Linked DNA regions of Homo sapiens: region 1 is linked to region 2. Evidence: promoter capture Hi-C in 16 types of primary human blood cells and fetal thymus (Javierre and others, 2016). All regions are on one chromosome and are shown on one strand. Each heading gives the region's core, a stretch centred on a gene start or on the middle of the fragment in contact. The rest is flanking DNA. Distances are from core to core; before and after follow the strand shown. Region 1 holds the start of PPM1A (protein phosphatase, Mg2+/Mn2+ dependent 1A). Region 2 holds the start of TRAPPC6B (trafficking protein particle complex subunit 6B).

The links. Contacts are between HindIII fragments. The CHiCAGO score rates a contact against its expected background, and 5 or more counts as called.
Region 1: a contact is called between the fragment with the promoter of PPM1A here and the fragment with the promoter of TRAPPC6B in region 2, in 1 of 17 cell types (non-activated CD4 T cells). The highest score is 5.2, in non-activated CD4 T cells.

What each region holds. Positions count from the first base shown.
Region 1 is chr14:60,243,850-60,251,336 of GRCh38, forward strand. PPM1A (protein phosphatase, Mg2+/Mn2+ dependent 1A) reads left to right here and starts at 5,372. Exons shown (of 6, transcript NM_021003.5): 1 at 5,372-5,828. It overlaps LOC101927702 (a long non-coding RNA gene), which reads right to left and starts at 1,787. Exons shown (of 3, transcript NR_188027.1): 1 at 1,696-1,787. RefSeq lists enhancers at 3,926-4,175, 4,718-5,446, 4,756-4,805, 4,866-5,215 and silencers at 5,316-5,415, 5,616-6,355. The HindIII fragment of the contact is 6,782 bases long and covers 2,473-7,487 here.
Region 2 is chr14:39,168,084-39,175,509 of GRCh38, forward strand. It overlaps TRAPPC6B (trafficking protein particle complex subunit 6B), which reads right to left and starts at 2,250. Exons shown (of 6, transcript NM_001079537.2): 1 at 1,932-2,250. The coding sequence starts at 2,012. It overlaps PNN (pinin, desmosome associated protein), which reads left to right and starts at 7,171. Exons shown (of 9, transcript NM_002687.4): 1 at 7,171-7,309. The coding sequence starts at 7,197. It overlaps PNN-AS1 (PNN antisense RNA 1), which reads right to left. Exons shown (of 2, transcript NR_186208.1): 2 at 6,792-7,229. RefSeq lists enhancers at 1,708-2,297, 2,057-2,106, 2,888-3,477, 6,559-6,698, 6,861-7,426 and 1 more and a silencer at 6,899-7,018. The HindIII fragment of the contact is 6,900 bases long and covers 2,031-7,426 here.

The DNA of each region.
Region 1 (7,487 bases), core at 4,122-6,621, about 21 Mb after region 2:
TCCCAAAGTGCTGGGAATATAGGCATGAGACACTGCACCCAGCCTATATCATTTAATTTTTAATAATGAGTATTTAACAAACAGCAGGCAAAATTTCTGAAAATTTAATAATCTGCTGTCATGAGCCAGTATAGGCCAGCTCTCCACACCACGGACTGGAACTAAGTTCAGCACTCTTTCCACTCCTGCTGCCTTTACTACCAGCATGTAAAAGCAATGATGCTCAGTATCGTACGGGGGACAAACCTGGGTACCCGTCATTAATTTCTGTGACCCTGGGTAGTTACTACCAGATGCTTAGTTTTCTCTTCTATAAAGGAGGAGATTAAGAGTCCTTGCCCTGTCTACCTGCAAGGGTTTTTGAGAGGATTAAACTGGTTAGTCTGTATGATAGTGCTTTGTAAACTGCAGAGTCAGGTTCAGATAAAAGGCTTTATGATGATGACAATTTCATTACTGTTTTCAACCAGGCCACCATTGTTAAGGATGCAGTGTGTCGCTGCTTTCAAAAGTATGGTTTAGTTTGAGATCTTCTGTAATGCCCAGGATAGACAGTAAACACCCAGAAGAATTGTTCTGAAGAAGCCCACTCAAATCTGTGCTAGTCTTTACTTAGCACAAATAGGTACCTATATTGGGATGAAAACTATTTATTTGAAGCTTATAATTCACTCTTTTCTAGCTGCTGCTGGATTGTCTGACGGGTCTTTCCTGGAGTTATGGAATACTTCTCAATTTCAATAGTTGAATAAAGGTGTTTTTTTTTCTGTCATGCAGGCTAGGGTGCAGGGGCATGATCTCGGCCCACTGCAACCTCCACCTCCTGAGTTCCAGTGATTCTCCTGCCTGCGATTCTCCTGCCTCAGCTTCCCAAGTAGCTGGGATTACAGGCGTGTGCCACCAGGTGTGGCTAATTTTGTATTTTCAGTAGAGACGGGGTTTCCCCATGTTGGCCAGGCTGGTCTTGAACTCCTGGCCTCAAGTGATCCACTCGCTTTGGCCTTCCAAAGTGCTGGGATTACAGGTGTGAGCCACTGCACCCAGACTATTTTTAATTTCAATTTTTAAAAAAGTTGCTTTGCTTTTTGCACCAGACCAACTCACCAAGTTATTTTCTATGGATTATACCCGTGCACATAATGTAGTTTCCTGATTATAAATTAAATATCCCTAATGTCCACGTTGAAACACTCTCGAAACTTAAATGACCATAAACTATTTGCCTTGAGTTTGCTGAACTTGTCTTTGGGCTGTAAGAAACTCTTTTCTGCCAAGCTCTTTTCCACATCAGGCCCTTTGCCCATGCTGACCCCTCTACCTGGAAAGTTCTCCCCTGATTATGAAGCTGACTCCTTCTCATCCTTTAGATCAAATGCTGCCTTCTTAGAGAGGTCTGCACTGAACACCTGTTTCAAGTCGTCTCCCGGATCTGTTTCCTTATTTATTTTCTTCACAGCATGGATAACAGTATGCAATTTCCTTTCTATCTGCTGACTTATTTGTCTATGCCTCTTATTATTATGTTGGCTCTTTGTGGGCAGGGCTTGCCCATTGATGTCATTATCTACCTCCAGTGTCCCACACAGTGCTTGGTGCACAATAGCTATCTCATGAACAGATGAACTTATCTGACAAGATCCACTCTAGTATTGTAAGGCTGTGGCCATATATGGCTATCTTGAGGTGAAAGCCTACCCTAAAGACTGTCCAGGACTTGGCCTCTGGTGCTCACAGTTGCCCAGGTTTCTCTCAGGTCGCAGGATGAGCCACAGTGGTAGCATAAGACTGCTGGCTGCTCCCCTCTGCCCCTCCCTAATGGGGCTGCCCAGTGATGTCACACAGGACAGGATTCTCTAATCCTTTTGATTCTGTAACAGTCCTCTAAGCAGCTAAGTTTCTCATAATGTATTATGATGTAGGGGAGGGAGGAAGGAGGGCCAGGGTAGGGGGCACACCCTCTCCCTGAATGAAATTCATTTAGGGGCACTGTCTGCTCGCATGTTCTGTTCTGGGAGAAAATGGGTAGCAGAAGCTACAATTTGTACTAAGCTAATGAAAAGAGAGAAAAGAAGAATGGGGAAGAGAAGGGCAAAGAAGGCAAAAAGAGAAGAGAAGAAAAAGGGAGGAGAGAGAAGGAGAAATGAGAAAAGAGGAAACCAAATGAAGAGGATGTGTGAGAGAAAAAAATATGAAACAGGTAGTGAGGGAGGAAGGAATTGTTGAACCTATGTTCTGGTTGGCTTTCTAACTCTTGAGTAGTGACTGGCTTCAGTGGAAAAGGATGGTGAGGGGTATTCTCAAATACTAGCCTCCTGAGGGGGTCATTTACATTACTGCATATATTTTGAGAGGCCCAGGCAAGTCTGCCTCAAGGGTGACTCTCCTGGAGAGTAATTTGGGAGCAGGAATGTAAACCTTTTTTTAAGTCACAATTGTGGTGGAAAGGGAAAGAGAGTATTGCTGATCAGATTAAGCTTTAGACTCCACACTACAGCCCCTGTCCTCACCCCAAGCCTCCCAATTACTAGGCTATCAACACACACTAAATTCAGGACTTTAAAGCCAATCTTGTAGATAATCTTTTTCTTTGTTAATTGAAATATAAACAGATTTCCAAAGCAGAGCAGGATAGTTTTATAATATACCTATAAAAATTACTAAAATGTCATCATCATGGCAATATATTCCCACTAAAATCTTACTGTGAACATCCCAAATATGTGTAGAGGCCCGGCAAAGTCTTACAGTTCAGAAGAGAACTTTCAATCCTCTTTTTTCAATGTTATTTTCCCCTTCTATCTGTCCCCCCTTCTTAGCATAAGGTTTAATAAAAGGGGATATGATGATATTAAACATATTTAATCAGACAATATTGATATCTTTTTAAAATATTAATCTTATAACCCATGAGTTTCCTAGTTCATACCAAAATGTCCCTGCAAGCTGTATTCAGAAATAAATAGTAGGAAGGTGCTGCTTTATCGGCAGTCTGTACAATGCGTAGACTCCTTAAAAATTTCTTTCTGTTCATATTTTCTATTTCTCTCCCTCTTCTTCTACAATTGACCCAGATTCTCCAAGTGCAGAACAGAGAGAAGAAAGGTGTGGAAGCCTAAAGGAAGGAAGCAGAAAGATAGGCAGGCATTTCAAGTTTTCTATGGTCCACTACCGTCACTAGTGACCCAGCTTCTGCTTATAAATAAGAAAATTTGTCTTTTAAGAGCACTCTAAATGGTTGCCATATGAGCTTTTGTAGTTCAGAATGTTAATGAGTCCACCAGCATGCTACTCATGCTGTTACTTGCCTGGAGTATTAAGGATTCCAAGAAGGTAGCGTTTCAAAGATCTCTGATCTAATTTCTTTTTTTGGGGGGTCGGGGAGATATGTGGAGAATTAGGAAATGTATCCTCAGATGATACTGAGACCAAATGCATAGTGAATTTTATTTTTATTTTGTATATGTGGAAATGATCCACGATCATCTTCTAAGGAATTCTGGCCGGGAACAGTGGCTCACGACTGTAATCCCAGCACTTTGGGAGGCCGAGGAGGGTGGATCACGAGGTCAGGAAACCGAGACCATCCTGGCCAACACGGTGAAACCCTGTCTGAACTAAAAATACAAAAAAATTAGCCAGGCGTGGTGGCAGGCGCCTGTAGTCCCAGCTACTCGGGAGGCTGAGGCAGGAGAATGGCATGAACCCGGGAGGCGGAGCTTGCAGTGAGCCGAGATTGTGCCACTGTACTAGCCTGGATGAAAGAGCGAGACTCTGTCTCAAAAAAAAAAAAAAAAAAAAAAAAAAAAGTGAAGGAAACAGAACCTTCCCCAAAGTCATGTTGAGAAAATTAGAGATGGCTTTTTACAACTTTAAAAGCAGCAGCTAAATATTTGCTGAATGCCAGAAAGAATAAATAGGTTGCTTTTGATCTAAGAGTTGGGGCAACAAAATGGTTTAGGAGATAGAAAGTAGTAGGGTGCAAATTGCTATAGTGAGCTCCTCAAGTAAAATAGAGAGGCCTTCAACATAAATTTACCTTTTTTACTGGCCAGAACTCAATTTGGCCAGTAAAAGAACCTGCCTTCTACAATGAAGTCTTTGGTTTGTGTGTGCATCAGAACATCTTTTAAAAATACGGACTTTTCTTCTAACTTCTTTTCCTGCGAATGTGGTGTAGGTCAAATTCGTGAACTGGTTAAGCCGCTGACAAGAGAGGGAAGGGCACCCCAGCCAATGGGAACCCGTGCTGGTGATGTACTGCTCCTAGGCTGCGATTCATTGGCTGCCTAGGGTTTGTCATTCTATCCCCGGCGTCTGCAAGCAGCGTGGGTCGGGTTTTCCAGCTAGCTAAACTGGATTTTGGCCGCTGGCACGTGCAGTTTCTATTAACTTTAGCTCATCTCTACCTCTTAATAGAAGCAGCTGTTATGTTTCTGATTATTCTCCTGATTTTGAAAAATCCTGTTCCCTTAACCTACCTCATTGGAGGTCGTTGGAGGTCCCCTGGGACAGAACCACGTGATTATCTAACATGTGCAAATAAATACAATGTGGAATCCCCTGAACTATAGAGGGAAAACCTGCCAGAAACTCAGAGCATGTGCCCCGTGCGTGAATCAGTTGCACTCGCACATTGGTGGGCGGTGGTAGCGTGCTTGTGTCTCTGCCCTTTGGGTCGCGAGGTGTGTGGCCGTGGCACCTGCTTGGGCTTCCTGGGGTCACTGGGAGAGGAAGGCTCTGGAGGAGTGGGACTCTGGGGTAGGGGGGTCTGGCAGCTGCCTGGGACCCACCATGGGTTCGAAGGGCAGCGGCCAGACCGCGACGGCGCCCAAGAAGGGTGGACAGCTTCGGGTCTGTGCTCGGGGCTGCGTGTACACCATCTTCGCAGGGAGTGGGGTTTGTATCTGCAGGCAGGTAGAAGAGCCAGGGCTCCGGGCGCGGACGCCGTAGGGGTAGCTTCCGAGTCCCTACTTGGCCAAGGGCCGGCACGGAGGGGCTGTCGATCTACTGGGCACCTAATAGCCGCACATTCTGTCCAGTCCCTGGCGCCGGAACGTGAAGGCCCGGGTCCTGGCTGCTATCCGGGATCCGGACGCTCCCTTCGGCTTCGGCCTGGTGCTCCAGGCCGTAAGGCAAAGGCGGCGGCAGCAGCAGCGGCAGAGAAAGAAGCTGGGTAAGGCAGTGACGTCATCTGTGGCGGCCCCTCCCCCGCCCGCCAGCCCTCACCGCAGTTCCTGCCCAACGACATCCGGGTCTCTGTAGCTGCGCGCCGCGCCGCAGCTGTAGCGGCGGCGGAGCCAGCGGGGCGGGGCGAGCGGAGGGGTGGGGGAGGGGCGACGCGGTCGTGAGCGCGCCTGCGCGGGGCCGCGCTAGAGGCGGCGGCGGCGGCGGTGGCGGCGCTAGGGACGGGAGCGCGCGCGGGAGCTAGAGAGCAGTGGTCTCGGCGCTCGTCCGGCCCGCAGCTTCGGGTCCTCAGGCGGCTGTTGCTCCGGAACGGGTGGTTGGGGAGGGGGGGGTGGGGGGACTCTAGACAGCTGAGGCGCGAAAGCGATGAGTCCTCGGCTCTTCCTCCTCCTTCTCCGGGACCCGCTCTCTGCCTCCCTCTCCAACGCCCGGATGATCTGAGCCGCGAGGGCGCCGACAGCCGGGGGCCCGGACGCAGCCCGGCTCCTCCCCTCCTCCGCCCCTTCCCCAGCCTGACCTGGCCCGCCGCTGCAGCGGTGACCCCTCCCCCGGCTGCCGCCGTCGCCGCCGCGGTGACCCCCTCCCCGGCTGCCGCCGCCGCCGCCTCGGCCGACCAGGGACCTGCCCGCCTGCGGCTGCTCCGGGTAAGTGCGGCGCTCGGGCCGACGGCGGGCTGGCGGGCGGTGCGGGCCTGCGCGGCGGCGGCGGCGGGCAGGCCTGGGGCCTGTAAACAAGCCGGGCGTCTGCCCGGGCGCTCCCGGGAGGAGACGCGACAACTCCACCCCCTGGCCGGCCTCCTCCCCCGAGCCGGGCGGCGGACGGCGAGGGGTTAACGCTCGGCGAGGGCGGTGGCGGGGAGGCGGGGGCGGGGTGTTAGTTGCGGTGGCGCGGGGAGGGGGCGCGACCCTCTGGCCGTCCGCGGCCGAGATGGGTGTTTGTGGCGGCGAAGCAGGCGACGGCCGCAGGCCGGCCTGGCCGGAGAGCGGCCTGCAGAACTTTTCCCGAGCGGGGAGGGGGCGTCCCCGCGCCCCCACCCGCTCGGGCGCGCCGCCCCGGCTGTCCTGGGCTTCAGCCCCTGGGAGGGAGGCGGGGAGACTTCCTTTGAACCGGGCTTAGCCTCGAAAAACCTAATTCTGTAGAAATTGCTTAAGGTTTTACAGGGGGCAGGGCTGAGAGACTCCTTCAGAACTCAAGTCAGTGAGTGATGCCTCTAGTTCATTCATTATTAAGGCATCGAACAAATCCATTGAAGTAAATTCCGATTTCTTATCCTTTTAACTACGTAAATCGGGTAAAACTTCTTGATGTTAGAGCTTGGTTGAGGTATGGTTCTGTTCTGCTTGTAGATTTTAAATAAACTTGGAGCCTTTTCTTGAAAGACAGCTGGCTGTGGAGAGCCTTCTACCAACTGCAGTTTTAGATACGTTTTGAAAATTTCATCACCTGAGGTATTTTTCTTCTCTCCTGAAACACCACATGGTACAAATCCACAAAAGTCATGCTTCAGTTGTCCAAGCCATGGGATCTGTGTGCTAGCCCCACCTCCCCGCAAGTTTCCTGCTCATTGGAATAATGAGCTGAATGTGTTTTAAGAAGTGGTTGGAAGAGTATGAGAGATAGGTATCATTTTCTCAAAGGAAATGATTTTGACATTATTGAGAGAAATTAGACATTTTAACAATTGTTTTGTAAAACAGTCTTTTCAAACTTGCACGTTGGGGTTTTAAACACAACCACTTTACATGTGTTGCGCTCCGAAAAGTGGAGGGATTTGTTGAAACACTACTCTGCTGAGACTTAGGGTTCCAGAGCACTTGGGAATTTAGCATAGCTTGGTCCCCAACTCTCTTTGAAACACTTTACTTTTATACTTTTATCTTGCTACATATTGGGCCTTTTCCAAAGATTGTATTTCTGTAACTCCTTATTTTACAAATGAGAAAATTGAAAATAAGGAGATTCTCTATTCTTAGATGCTGCTTTTACTGACTTAATGCTTTCTTTACCAATAAATAATTTGAAGCACAAAGTAACATTTCCTAGTGTTATAGTTTTGTTCTTGTTATGTGTAACTTATATGTATCTGATTAAACTTTCAGTCATGTAAGGATGATTACTTTTAACCTGGAAGTTTACAGCAGTACCACATTATTGAAACTATAATGAACTTCCTGCACATGGCAGTTGCCTAAGACATTTTAATTTGATATCATAAAACATTTTTAGATCGGTGAAGTAATTATATTATGGGAAAGGTGTATTAAGACTGATAATGTTTGAAGTTAACTACCTCAATTATATTT
Region 2 (7,426 bases), core at 1,000-3,499:
CCGGCACCTGTAATTCCAGATACTCAGGAGGCTGAAGCAGGAGAATCGCTTGAACCCAAGAGGCGGAGGCTGCAGTGAGCTGAGATCACACCACTGCACTCCAGCCTGGGAGACAAGAACAAAACTCCATCTAAAAAAAAAAAAAAAGAGAGAGAGAGAAGAGGAAAGGTAAGAAGGGAGGGGAGAATGAAGAGAACTGAATACGCAAGTGGTTTGGGGGGATCGGGGGTTATGACAAAAAAGTAAAAGGGGTGTGTTAACTGTTCTAGAGGGAAAAGGAAGGCTAGCTTTGCACAAACAGTAAACCTTGAGGTCAATAATAAAGTCAGAAGTTTGTGACTTGAAAAAAATCTCTATTATAGATGGGTCATTTGAATAAGAATAGAATTCGCTTCATTTCCAATAACCTTCCAAATGTATCCTGCCTATCCTTCTTGTGCAAACTGGCAGTACCTTTTTTTGGATGTCATACAGGCACCTCAAAAGTTCAACCTGCCCCGAAATAACTCATTATCTTACCTCCTTATTTTTTTCTTCTCCTTTATTTCCTTTTCTGATTAATAGTACCACCATCCAACCCAGCTGCTCAAGCTGAAAACCTGACGATAATTTTCAACTCCCACTCCCATCCTTAAACAAGGCCTACAGAATTCCACTTTCTAACTTTCAAATCTGTTATCTCCTTTTCTCACTATCCCTGTCTTAATCCAGATCTTCATCTCCTCCTGCAGTGACTCCCGTAATAAAGGATTTTCCCCCTACAAGGATCTTCCCTCTCTAGCCCAAACACTGGATTACTTTTCTAAAATGCAAATGGTCCACATCATTCCCTTCCTTAAAAATATTCCCTCGAAAAGATCCGAATTCTTTAATTACACAAAGCTTTCTAACTTCACCTCTCAATTCTTCTCACTCTCTATTCAGTCTAGTCCAAAGAAATGCTTAAGTGTATTTAAATCCACCACTCTTTCATACCTCTACCACTTTATCTTTGCCTAGGATACATTTCCTATCCCCACTCTCCACTCATTTTTTATCAATAGCATTAAAGAAAGGGCTCCTGACTTGAGCATGACTTTGGAGTATTTCTAAAATCCGTTACAACTCCATGATTCTACCAGCCAATACTCAGTGTTAACTATTCATTAAATCACTATTCCCTAAATACTGTGAGGCAGGAGTATTATTTTATTTAATTTATCTAGCAGTGTCAGCAGTGACAGGCCCACAATGATTGAATAAGGACTCCCACATATTAGAAGTAACCGCTACATACTATCACATTTCGGATTAAATTAGATTAAAAAAAAATCTCTACAAGGATGGGGCCATTGTTTCATTCACTACTATATCCCTGGCACCTAGAAATCGCTCTGACATAAGGGCACTAAATAAATACTTTCTGAAATAATTAATTTAAATTATGTTCCCTAATTATCCTAACGCCTGCAAACTTTCCTTTGCAAACTCAACCTTCATTAGGCTTCAGGTCTCAAGTTGTGTGGAGTTGTACTGAGCATTAGGAATGAGGAAGGAGGGACAGGCTTCTCAGGTTGGCACAGGTCTGTCCAGTGCATGGCTCAAGTGCTGGAAGTGCCAGCAAAACTAAGTAGGCTCTGCAGTTAACCCTCTCGTAAATAATGGCAGGGACAACACTAAAAGTACCAAAATCTGTGGCGTGCAAGACAAACGTACGGGAATAGACAAAAGAGAATCAAATAGAAGAAGATACGAAAGAGAAAACGATGAAAGATGACGGTTCAAAGGAGACAACTGACAGGTTCTAGGGTTTAGGACACCTGGAGGTGGACCATTTTGTGTACACCTCGGGAGGCGTCGGGTGGCGATGGGACAGGGGTTGAAGGAAAGCACTGAGGGGAAACAAGGTGTGTCACCGCAAAAGGACCTCAAGGTTGTGTGGCAGCACTCACCACCTCCCCCTGCTCCGCGGACTTGTACACTCCAGACACCATCTCGTTATGGAGAAGCAAAAACAACGCCTCATCCGCCATTTCCTGCTAATTCTTCCAAGCTTCGAGTTTTGGCTCCCGTTTGAGCTGGTCTGGGGGTTCCAGCTCGCGCCTCAGCGACTTCGCCGGCGCCGCGGCTCCGTCAGGCCGCCATTCTATCCCTGTGGCTAAGAGACCGAGGTATTCACACGACTTCCCAAAGGCTGGTACTGAAATGAGTCTGGTACTGGAGAGAGCCCACACTTCGGGGCTACCAAATCCTAGGGCCGAACTAAAGTCTGACGGGAGCTCTAACCAAAGCCAACCAGCTGAGATGCGATCCGGCCGCTGGGCGGGGGCGAAAAAAACAACTTCCGGTCCCCTCTACCCCGGCATTCGGCCAGCTCTATGATCACTGAGTTCCTCTCTCCCAAGCCCGGAGAGGCCAGCGCCCAGATATGAGGAAGGTTCCCCTCTCACCACGATGTCGGGGGCAGAGCAAGATAAAATAAGACCTAAAGCTCCCGCCTGGCCCGGGCGCGGTGGCTCACGCCTGTAATCCCAGCACTTTGGGTGGCGGAGGCGGGTGGATCACATGAGGTCGGAAGTTCGAACCAGCCTGAGAAACCCCGTCTCTACTATAAGTACAAAATTAGCGGGGCCTGGTGGTGCATGCCTGTAATCCCAGCTACTCGGGAGTCTGAGGCAGGAGAATCGCTTGAACTCGGGAGGCGGAGGTTGCGGTGAGCTGAGATCGCGCCACTGCACTCCAGCCTGGGCAACAAGAGTGAAACTCCGTCTCAAAAAAAAAAAAAAAAAAAGAGCTCCCGCGGCCACCTCCTTGTTAATTAGCAATAGAAGTTAAAAAAATTCTTTTGGCTTCATCAAAAGCATCCACTTCCTGCCATATGTTCTTCAAATATGAAAAGTTGTAGAAAGAGTTTAAAATATACGTTTTCACAGTGCAAATTTTTTAAATATTGAAAAGTTATCCCAATTCCTATTGAATTAAGCCCGGGTATACAAAAAGAATTAGAGCCATTTTGACCACCAGGAATTTTCCTGTTAGTGGGGTGCAAGGGACAAGGGAAGTGGAGCAAACGAAAAACAAGATACACTTGAACCGGAAAATACAGACTAATCAGAGGATTAGGTGAAAAGTGCTATAGAATTCAGAAAAGCGATGTCACTGCAGGATGGAGTTGCTAATAATCTACAGCAGTGTGAGACAACTGTAGGAATTGTCCCACTGCATGTGCAAATAAATACACATGCTACATCATAGTATGTACATCTTAAATTTGGCAAATTCAACCGTAAGCATGTTGCTTAGCCTGTGATTAGTTCTTCCATTGGTAATTCACAAAACAAAATTTTTCCCCAATTGTCCCTGTTGTTTTCCCCCAAATTAACATACCGCAAGGTGGCTCATGCCTGTAAAATCCAGCACTTTGGGAGGCCGAGGCACGGGGGGTGGGGGGGATCACGAGGTCATGAGTTTTGAGAGCAGCCTGGCCAACATGGTGAAAACCCGTCTCCACTAAAAATACAAAAATTAGCCGGGCGTGGTGACAGGTGCCTGTAATCCCAGCTACTCGGGGGGCTGAGGCAGGAGAATCACTTGAACCTGGGAGGCAGAGGTTGCAGCGAGCAGAAATTGTGCCACTGCACTCCAGCCTGGGCGACAGAGCAAGACTTCGTCTCAAAAAACGAAACACACACACAAACTCTTCATGCCCTTTCACAGGAATTTAAGATCATGTTCCAAAATTTTAATTGTGGTAGGTTTTTTTTTTAAGCATGTCCCTTCTAATGTTTGAATCAGTTTATTCCATTCATCACGTAAATCCAGCATAAAAGCTCCACTTAAGCCTTTGAAAACACTAAATTGTGTAATTTTGAAGAGTATTTTGCCATGGTAATCTTAATTTTTCCAGCACTAAATTTTCAGTTATGCGAAATCAGGTCCTTTATGTCTAGATGACATTCTTGCCCTCATCACTACCATCAAGAAAAAGGAGTCCAAGTCCACCACACAAGTCAAAAAGTAAGTAAATGGCCAATTTATCAAAGTTGACTTCTCCAACCACAATAACATGAGGCTTTTAAAGTACGTTTCTGGATAGAAAGGAAACTTATTTAATGAGGACCTACTAACTATTGAACACAGCATCCTACTTATCCTTCTCCATAAAGTTAAATTGCCAAGGCTCCTAGGAATAGATCCTATGGAAGCAAGGACAGTGAGTGTGGTGTGTGTGTGTGTGTGTTTTGAGACAGAGTTTTGCTCTTGTTGCCCAGGCTGGAGTGCAATGGCACTATCTCAGCTCACTGCAACCCCGCCTCCCGGGTTCAAGTGATTCTCCTGCCTCAGCTTCCCGAGTAGGTGGGATTACAGGCATGCACCACCAAGCCCAGCTCATTTTGTATTTTTAGTAGAGACGGGGTTTCTCCATGTTGGTCAGGCTGATCTCGAACTCGTGACCTCAGGTGATCCGCCTGCCTCGGCCTCCCAAAGTGCTGGGATTACAGACTTGAGCCACTGTGCCCAGCTGTGTGTGTTTTGTTTTGTTTGAGACAGAGTCTCACTGTTGCCCAGGCCAGAGTGCAGTGGCATGATCTTGGCTCACTGCATGCAACCTCCACCTCCCGGGCTCAAGCAATTCTGCCTCAGCCTTCCAAGCAGCTGACACTACAGGCACTTGCCACCATGCAGGACTAATTTTGTATTTTTAGTAGAGACAGGGTTTCATCATGTTGGCCAGGCTGGTCTTGAACTCCCAATCTCAAGTGATCCGCCCACCAAGGCCTCCCAAAATCCTGGGATTACCGGGCCGACCATACATGCAAACATTCTTACACTTGCTGAATACGCTCTACTATTATCACACTCTCATGCCTCAGGTACTGCCTAAGGTTGTACACAGACCTGTAATAAGATCAATGAGGCTAAGTATGCTCACAATCAGAATTAGATAATTGTCAATCTTCATCCCCATTATTCATCTCTACATTTTTTTCTCCTATAGTACTTCCCGCTTTCTAACATGCTATACTATTTATTTATTTATTTATTTATTTTTGAGACAGAGTCTCACTGCTGCCCAGGCTAGAGTGCAGTGGTGTGATGACAGCTCACTGCAGTCTCAAACTCCTGGACTCAAACAATCATCCCGCCTCAGCCTCTCCAGTACAATTTTTAAAATTTTTATTTTTAGAGACAGGATCGTTGCTATGTTGCCCAGGCTGGTCTTAACTCCTGGGCTGTAGCGATTCTCCCACCTCAGTCTCCCAAGTATCTGGGATTACAGGCACAATCCACTGGACTTGCTCAGAGATCTTTATTGTACACTGATATACCCAAGTGCCTAGAATAGCACCTGGCACATAGTGGGCCCTCAGTATTTGTTGAACTAATGAATGATCATTGCTCCTTTGGAAGCCTACAAACCCCACAGAAGCAGGAATCACAACTATCTTGTTCTAGGCTTTATTTTCAAACCCTAGCTTACTGCTGATACACAATGGAAGCTCTAAAAGATTGCTGGATTAAAGTGGTAGCTTGAGTTAATTAATACACTGGGCCCACTAATTCTTTGTACAAGGAAGATAGATGCCTGGCTGAGATTATTTAAAGCATTGTTTCTGTGGGAAAGTGTTTTGTTTTTTTGTTTGTTTGGGACGGAGTCTCACTCTGTCGCACAGGCTAGAGTGCAGTGGTGCAATCTCGGCTCACTGCAACCTCCGCATCCCGGGCTCCCGAGTAGCTGGGATTACAGGCGTACACCACCACTCCCAGCTAATTTTTGTATTTTTAGTAAAGGCGGGGTTTCCCCATGTTGGCCAGGCTGGTCTCCAACTCCTGGCCTCAAGTGATCCACCTGCCTCAGCCTCCCTAAGTGCTGGGATTACGGGCGTGAGCCACTGTGCCTGGCCTGTGAAAAAATGTTTTCTGAGCTTCAATTTGTATATATATTTATAGAACAAAACTAGTTCCTACATTGGCAGTGCAGGTAGGGCAGAACCAGAAGCGGGACAACACACACAGACACCACTAACAACAGGGCCGCTCCCTTAGGTCTGGTCTTAACCAGCTCTAGGCCAGGTGAAGAGGCTAACTCAACCATGACTGCGTGTCTGTCTCGCCATTGCTTTCTTTTCTCTAGTATAGATGCTCAGCGTCTAATCAGAGACTGATTCTCAACTGGCGTGACCAAAGGACAGTTATATTATCTCCAGTCTCAATTTCCTTATCAGTAATAACAGGCATTTTATCCACACTTTCAGTTTGTGAGAAATAAGGCATGTAGACGGTTTCACAGAGGGTCGGGAACAAGATCAACCCCTAACAAACGTTAGCCATTATGACTAATGACTTTTACTAGTTTTCATTTTTGTCTTCCCTCTTCTCACTTTAACCTAATCAGGCTGGGCGTGGTGGCTCACGCCTGTAATCCCAGCACCCTGGGAGGTCGAGGCAGGCGAATCACCTGAGGTCAGGAGTTCGAGACCAGCCTGCCCAACATGGTGGAATCCGGTCTCTAATAATACAAAAATTAGCCAGGCGTGTTGGCGCGCGCCTGTAGTCCCAGGTACTCAGGAGGCTGAGGCAGGAGAATCGCTTGAACCCGGGAGGAGGAGGTTGCAGTGAGCCGAGATGGTGCCACTGCACTCCAGCCTGGACGACAGAGCGAGACTCCGTGTGAAAAAAAAAAAATTAACCTAATAGAGGAAAGCACGCGCCCACCCCCTCTCTGAGCATGCGCACCAACAGAATAGCCGCGCCCTTTCCTAATTAAATCATTAACCAAGGTGAGGGTAAGGAAGAAAAGGAGGCTTGGCTAAGTCCCACTCTGATGTGATCACGTTAAAACGGTGTAAGGCACATTACATCATAGGTTAAAAGGCCTAGAAAACTCCGCGCTCCCCTTGCCAGAACTGCAGACTCGCGAGCCTAAGTCTCCGAGAACTCAGGGATTGTGAAACCCGCCCCGACTCTGCGCTAGCAGCGGGATCCAGGCACCCGCAGCTAACTGGGGAGGGAGATGACTGCCTGGCTGACTTTTCATTGGCTCAGAGTCACAAAGGCTGCAGGTTCTTCCCCCTTCCGGTCGCTGAGTGGTTGAGGCCGGAAGACAACGCTCATCGTCATTGGCTGAGCCCGGCTGTCAGTCCTTTCGCGCCTCGGCGGCGCGGCATAGCCCGGCTCGGCCTGTAAAGCAGTCTCAAGCCTGCCGCAGGGAGAAGATGGCGGTCGCCGTGAGAACTTTGCAGGAACAGCTGGAAAAGGCCAAAGAGAGTCTTAAGAACGTGGATGAGAACATTCGCAAGCTCACCGGGCGGGATCCGAATGACGTGAGGTAAGGGCCTAACGGGAACTCGGAACTCGGAGCTCGGAGAGGCAGCCCTCAGGTCGGGGTGAATTGGGGGCGGGGAGGGCGGCCAGCCTTAAGAAGACTGGAACCTCGAGGCCTGTT